Linked DNA regions of Homo sapiens: region 2 is linked to region 1. Evidence: promoter capture Hi-C in 16 types of primary human blood cells and fetal thymus (Javierre and others, 2016). All regions are on one chromosome and are shown on one strand. Each heading gives the region's core, a stretch centred on a gene start or on the middle of the fragment in contact. The rest is flanking DNA. Distances are from core to core; before and after follow the strand shown.

What was found. The method cuts DNA at HindIII sites, captures the fragments that hold promoters and counts their contacts. A CHiCAGO score of 5 or more calls a contact.
Region 2: a contact is called between a fragment that was not itself captured here and the fragment with the promoter of LAX1 in region 1, in 3 of 17 cell types (total B cells, naive CD4 T cells and naive B cells). The highest score is 5.4, in total B cells.

The regions. Positions count from the first base shown.
Region 1 is chr1:203,763,599-203,767,415 of GRCh38, forward strand. It overlaps LAX1 (lymphocyte transmembrane adaptor 1), which reads left to right and starts at 1,585. Exons shown (of 5, transcript NM_017773.4): 1 at 1,585-2,056. The coding sequence starts at 1,968. RefSeq lists an enhancer at 1,468-1,827. The HindIII fragment of the contact is 21,277 bases long and covers 1-3,817 here.
Region 2 is chr1:203,249,518-203,253,334 of GRCh38, forward strand. No RefSeq gene overlaps it. Among named protein-coding and RNA genes, the nearest start is that of CHIT1, 22 kb to the left of the region's middle. The HindIII fragment of the contact is 166 bases long and covers 2,132-2,297 here.

The DNA of each region.
Region 1 (3,817 bases), core at 335-2,834:
ATTTTGCCCCATGGGGAAGGAAAGGAGAGCAGGATGAGGGGCACAGCCAAGGCCTGGAATCCTGGCACTCACCTGCAGTCTGAGGCAGGTAACTTGGGCAGCTGCCTCTGAGGTGGTGATTTCCCTGAGATGTGGGGGCAGGAGAGAATTGGACAACCAGAGGGAAGATTGGTCTAACTGCAGCAGATTGGGTAGATAAGATAAGTGAGGCCCTGAAATGATCACATGCAATGGAAAAGTTCTTTAAAAAAAAAAAAAATTTTTTTTTTTTAATTAGCAGTCATGGTTCTGAGGTTTGGTTCCATGTGCCCTTTCCGTGTACTGCCTTCCGAGGTCCTGATTCTCACAGTCCCTTATTGGTTCCAATGGCCCAGGACCCCAGTCCTTGCCACCAGCATGATGGATCTTGTGAGTAGTCCTAGTTCCTACTCAGACCTGATCCAAAGGAGAAGTGGGCAGAGACCCAGGTTCCAGCTCCAGCACCAGCTGCCTCTGAGCCATTTCTGCTTCCTACCAGGTGAAGCTCCTGGGAGGGAAGGGGCCCAGGACCTGGAATGATAAAGCTCCCTGGAAAGCCAGCCATGGCCAGTCTGCAGCCCCTGGGGACTCTGTGAGAGTCTGGATGCAGACAGGCCAGGGGCTGCCACCTCAGGAAAGCTGAGGACCTCAATGTCCACTGGGAAGAGATGGGAGGGAGGCATGGTTCTAGGAGGGTACTGCTGGTCTGCCCTTCCATTCATCTGGGAATCCATTTCCTTGTGGAAAGTGCAATCAGAGAGGTTCTTCACATCCTTACAACAGTCTTAGTGGCCCCTTCTCTTTGGACTCTCCCAAGATGCAAAGAGTGTTTCCGGAGATTAGTAGGCTCAAGAAGGGAGGGGAGTTAGCAATAAATTTTGAACAATCTTCAAACACTTTGGGTAGCTCTTAAGGATGAACTTGTTCAGCTTCTGAGACAGGTGTGTGACAAGTAAGACTGTGACTGATCTTCAGAAGAGCCCTGAGAACAGGAGATCACCAGCAGCCAGGAGCTGTGGAAGGTTGCCTTGGGGGAGCAGGGGTCCTGCTAACCCAGCATAACTTCTATTCTTAAGGTAGTACCCAGAGCAGAGGTTCCCAAAACATGAAACACAGATGAGCTCCATCAAAATCACCTGAAAGCTCCATCAAATTCACCTGGAAAGCATCGATAGCCAAAGCCTGCCCCCTCTGCAGCCTCCACCCACTGAATCAGAAGAGGGTCCCGGAGATCTGCATTTCACTCTAAAAGGCAACCTCCAGTGCTCCTTAGACTTGCTTAGAAAATACTGTAAATCTGAAGACTTATACAACTCTAAGTGTCTCAGAAACTCAGGGTGAAGAATCACAAGTTCTCTACTACCCTGCCCCATTTTTAATCACACTCATCACAGACCACAGAGCACCTGGCAAACCCAGGAACGGTGGGTTGAAGATATGTTTTCTTCTAGCAGATTAAGAGCTGAGCAGAGTTTCCTGTGCCCTGTGCTTCATTAGCACATTGGTGGTGTCGTTTCCGGTGACTGACTCTCTGTTTCCATTCTGGCAAAGTGGTTTGCTCTTTTCACTCTGCTTTGGGTGTTGAAGGAAGACGAGCTTCTCACGGAGCCTCTCTTGAGCCTCTTGGCAGTTTCCCCCTCTGTGCCCCTCACGTTTCCACCAGAAACGTGAAGGCAGAGGCCACAGATTCTCCCTGAGCCACCTCACTTGGAAGCACCATGTCCGGATGAGATCGCACTTCCTGCAGTGGGCATTAGCCACGTCCAGGTAGAACCAAACCTGTTGCTTTTGTATGTTGGGTCAACTTGGCCTGACGTTTCAGAGGTAGACACGAGATAGGGAGTTTGTTGCGGGGGTGGGGAGAAGTGGTAGACATGCTGGCTAACTGATTATGATTAAGAGAAACTTAGAAGCTGAAGCCAGAGAGCATCTCAAAGGTTCCTGATACAATGGATGGTGTCACTCCAACCCTTTCGACAATCAGAGGGAGGACCTTGGAGTCCAGCACTCTGCATGTGACTCCCCGCAGCCTGGACAGGTGAGTGACTCAGGGTGGTGAGCTCCACCCTGCCCTGATTTAGGCAGAAGGTCCTAGTCCACCCTTAGGAGCTTCTTACACAGCAGTGCTGCCACCTCTCAACACCCAGGCTCGGTCTACTAAACCACCAAACTCTAGGCTTGGAGGCATTTGCTCAGGGGTGCTAGGGGGAAAGGAAGGTATTGAGGAAAGAAAGAAAATATTGTGGTAGAGGAAAAACTGTGATAACACTGGCCCTTAAAGCTAGTTGCTTAGACTGGTTGGATTTCTCACCTCTCGGAGGCCCTGAACCCTATCATCAGTCTTTCCTAGGTGTCACCATGACAGAAACAAAAGGCTGAGTTTTCCAAGGATGTGTTTTGAGATCCAAAAACTTGTCATGAATAAAAAATGTAGTGATAGATGTAATAAAGATACGTCCTTAGGACGTAAAATCTTACAGAACTAATCATGGGTATGAATTACTGCTACTACTTTCAATCTCATACAAACAAAATTAAAAATCCATCCACAGTTGAAACTTTAAAAACATTGGCAGCTGACTGGGCGCGGTGGCTCACACCTGTAACCCCAGCACTTTGGGAGGCCGAGTGGGGCGGATCACCCCCACTCTTGAACCAGCCTGGCCAAGACCAGCCTGGCCAACATGGTGAAACCCCGTTTCTACTAAAAATACAAAAATTAGCCGGGAGTGGTAGCATGCTCCTGTAGTCCCAGCTACTCAGGAGGCTGAGGCAGGAGAATCACTTGAACCCGGGAAACAGAGGTTGCAGTGTCATGTCATTGTACTCCAGCCTGGGCAACAAAAGCGAAACTCTGTCTCAAAAAATAAAATAAAATTGCAGTCGTTTGGGGAAATAAATGTTATTATCATGGCAAACACATGTCACTTGCTGGTAGATATGAGCATCAATGAGCAATGAATCAGAAGCCTGAAGCATCTCTCCAAAACTATTTCTTCATTTATTTTTATTTATTTCTAATTGGCAAATCAAAATTATATATATTTATCATGATAGCCTGTTGTTTTGAAATATGTATACATTGTACAATAGCTACATTAAACTAATTAAGATACACATTACTTCACAATTTTCTTTTGTGGTGAGAATACTTAAAATTTCTCAGCAATTTTCAAGAATATGACACATTTTTATTAACTATAGTCATCAACACTTTTTTTGTTTTGTTTTGTTTGTTTTTTTTATTTTTATTTTTTTAGACAGAGTCTCGCTCTGTCGCCCAGGCTGGAGTGCAGTGGCGTGATCTCGGCTCACTGCAGCCTCCACCTCCCAGGTTCAAGCTATTCTCCTGCTTCAGCCTCCTGAGTAGCTGGGATTGCAGGCATGTGCCACCACCCGCGGCTAACTTTTTTTTGTATTTTTAGTAGAGATGGGGTTTCTTCATGTTGGTCAGGCTGGTCTCGAACTCCCTACCTTAGGTGATCCGCCCACCTCTGTCTCCCAAAGTGCTGGGATTACAGGCATGAGCCACCGGGTCTGGACCATCAACACATTTTTATTAACTATAGGCATCATGTTATACAACAGATCCCTTGAATTTTTCTTTCTCTCTAACTGATATTTTGTACCCTTTGACCAACATCTCTGCAACCCCTCCCTGGTAACCACCATTCTACTCTCCACTTCTTTTTTTTTTTTTTTTTTTTTGAGACAAAGTTTCACTCTTGTTGCCCAGGCTGGAGTGCAAGGTTGCAATCTAGGGTCACTGCAACCTCCACCTCCCAGGTTCAAGCGATTC
Region 2 (3,817 bases), core at 965-3,464, 510 kb before region 1:
TACTTGTATTTCACTGTTTTCTCCCTAATGTCGTTTTTCAATTCAGGGTCCCATCTAGGATACCACATTACATTTAGTTGTTGTGTCTCCTTTAGCCCCCTCTTGTCTGTGACAGTTTCTCAGACTTTCCTTTTTACCTTTTCCAATACTTTGAAAGTTTTAATGAGTATTAGTCAGGTATTTTGTAGAATGTCCTTCAATTTTGGCTTGTCTAGTGTTTTCTTCATGGTTAGATAGGGGTTCTATGTTTTGGGGAGGTAAACCACAGAGGTGAAGTGCCATCCTCATTACATCTCATTAAAAATGTAGGTATTATCTGCTGGATGCAATGACTCACACATGCAATCCTAGTACTTTAGAAGGCCAAGGTTGGGGGGATCACTTGAGGTCAGGAGTTCGAGACCAGCCTGGCCAAGTGGATTCATAGGCAAATTCTACCAAATGCCAAACTTTCTCAAATTCTTCTAAAGAATAGAATAAAAATCTCACCCCAGGCTGGGTGTGGTGGCTCACGCCTGTAATCCCAGTACTTTGGGAGGCCAAGGCAAGCAGATCACTTGAGGTCAAGAGTTGGAGACCAGCCTGGCAAACACGGTGAAACCCTGTCTCTACTAAAAATACAAAAATTAGCCAGGCATGGTGGCATGCACGTGTAATCCCAGCCACTTGGGAGGCTGAAGCAGGAGAATCGCTTGAACCCAGGAGGCAGAGGTTGCAGTGAACAGAAATCTTACCACTGCACTCCAGCCTGGTGACAGAGTGAGACCTTGTCTCAAAAAACTAAAACTAAAAGGTAGGTATTATCCACATAACTGATCTTTTTAATCTTGATTACCAGGCCGGGATACTATTTGCCAGGTTTCTACTTCTCCACCTGGCTTCCCTATTCTACTCTTTGGAAGCGAGTCAGTAAGTGCAGCCCACACTCTAGGGGTGAGGAGTTAAGCTCCACTTCCTTGGGGAAGAAGCAACTACATACCTTTATTATATAATTCTGTATGGGACATTTGTCCCTTCTCTCCCATTTATTTACTATATCATTTATTTATATCCATATGGACTCATAGATATTTATTTATGTTTTGAGTTATAATCAAATACTATTAGTACATTATTTATTTTGCTGCTCAAATTTTTCCAGCTTTGGCCACCGAGAGCTCTTTAATGTTGGCTTGTTTCAGTCAGCATAAAGTTTTTGAGACTCATCCATTTTGTTGTTATCAGTAGTCTGTTTCTTTTAATTGCAAGAAGTATTGTATTTTATGAATATATCCCACTTCATAAACATTGGGTTATTTCCAGTTTTGGCTATCAGAAATGCAAAGCTTCTATGAACAGTTATGTATACGTCTCTTCGTGGACATATGTTTTCATTTACTTTGAATAAATACACAGGTGTAAAATTAGAGTCATCAGCTAGCTTTATGTTTAATAAGAAGCTACCAAGCAAGCAACTTTTCAAAGTAATTGTGCCATTTCACACATCCAAGAGCAACGTGAGAGTTTTTGTTATGTCAAATGCTTGCCAACATGTGGTGTTGACAGTCTTTATAATTTTAGACATTCTAGTAGGCATGTAGTGATTCATTATGGCTTTAATTTGCCTTTGCCTGCTGAGTAATGATGTCGAGCACTTTTTTTATATGTCTTTGTCCATTCATATGTCTTTGTTTGCTTCTGAAAATGTTGCTCAAGTCTGTCATCCACATTTTTATTGTGTTAGAAGTTCTTTATTATTCTGGATAGAAATCCATATTCAGATATATGTACTGTGAATGTTTTCTACCAGCCTTTGGTTTTGCCTGTTCGTTTTCTTAGCTGAGTCTTTTTTTTTGTATTGTGGTAAAAACCACACAACATTAAACCATCCTAAACATTTTTAAATGTACATTTCAGTACTGTTAAGTATATTCACTTGTGCAACAAGTCTCTAGAAATTTTTCTTCTTGCAACACTGAAACTCTATACCTACCAAACATGAATTCCCCATCCCACCTCCCGCAAGTTCTTGGCGACTACCTTTTTACTTTATGTTTTGAGGATTCTGACTTATTTAGATACTTTATATGAGTGAATTATACAGTATTTGTCCATTTGTGACTGGCTTATTTCACTTAGCATAATGTCCTTAAGCTTCATTCATGTTGTAACATGCCCTTTTTTAAGGGCACATAAAATTCCATTATGTGCATATACCACATTTTCTTATCCAATTACCTGTTATTTCCTCCTGTTGGCTATTGTGAATAATCCTGCAATGAACATGGGTGTGCAAATATCTCTGAGATCTGCTTTGAAGCTTTTTGGCTATATACCCAAAAGGGGGATTGCTGGATCATATGATAGTTCTATTTTTAATGTTTTGAGAAACTCCATACTGTTTTTCATAACATCTGTATAATTTACTTTCCCACCACCAGTGCATGAGGACCCAAACTTCTCTGCATCCTTGTCAACACTTGTTATTTCCTGTTATTTTTATAATGGCTATCCTGATGGGTGTGAGGTGATATCTCATTGTGAGTTTTATTTACATTTCCCTAGTGATTAATGATGTTGAGCATATTTTCATGTACTTAATAACCATTCATATATCTTCTTTGGAGAAATGTCTATTTAAATCCTTTGCCAGTTTTTAAATTGGATTATTTGGGGTTTTTCTTGTTGTTAAGTTGTACAAGATCCTTATATATTCTGGATATTGACCCCTTATCAGATATATGACTTGCAACTCTTTTCTCCCATTCCATAGGTTGCCTTTTCTCTCTGTTGACTGTTACTTTGATGTGTAAAAAAACTTAAGTTTTATGTAGTACTATTTGTCTATTTTTTATTTTGTTGCCTGTGCTTTTGGTATCATATCCAAGAAATTATTGCCAAATCCAATTGTTGGCATATAATTGCTCATAATGGCATTTACATTTTAAGAAATTGCTGATAGTGAAGGACTTACTGTTGCCATTTTGTTCATTGTGTTCTGTTTCACTTGTAGCTTTCTTTGTCCCCCCCCCCTTTTTTCTTTTGATAATTTCTTTTGTGTTTCATTAATTTTTTTTTGTGGCCACAGATTTTGATTCCCTTCTCACTTCCTTTCCTTTACAGTCTTTGTCCATTTTCTGTTGCTGTAACAGAATACTTGAGACCAGGTAATTTATTTTTTAAAAAGAGGTTTGTTTAGCTCACAGTTCTTGATGCTGGGAAGTTCAAGATCAAACAGCTGCATCTGACGAGGGTCTCATGCTGTGTCATAACATGGAGGATGGCATCACATGGTGGTTATGCATGTGAGAGCACTGAGCGGGTACACACACAAGAGAGAAAACATGAGGGGTGACCTCACTTTATAACAACCCACTCTTGCGGTAACTAATCCAGTCACTGAAGAGCAATAATTCACTCCTGTGAAATGGCATTAATCCCTTCATAAGGACAGATGGCTTATGACCCAAATGCCTCTTAAAGGTCCCACCAGTTCTCAACACCATTACATGGGGAACAAGCCTTAACATGAATTTCAGTGGGGGATAAACCATATTCAAATCATAGCACTTACATTCTATAGTTACTGTCTTTGTGGTAACCATTGCAATTACGTGAAACATAACCTCTTAATGTTTTAACAATCTACTTTTAATGAGTACCATGTGGTGGTTTCCTGATTAAAGCCCCTTAATTCAGAAAAACTGCTTGCTTGCTTACTTGTTTGCCTGTTCTCTTACATAGGTGTGTCTCCATAGATAAATTAGGGGAAAATCTGTCCCTTTGTATTTCAAAAAGGGCAAAGAAAATTGTAATTAGATTTCTCCATAGACACACT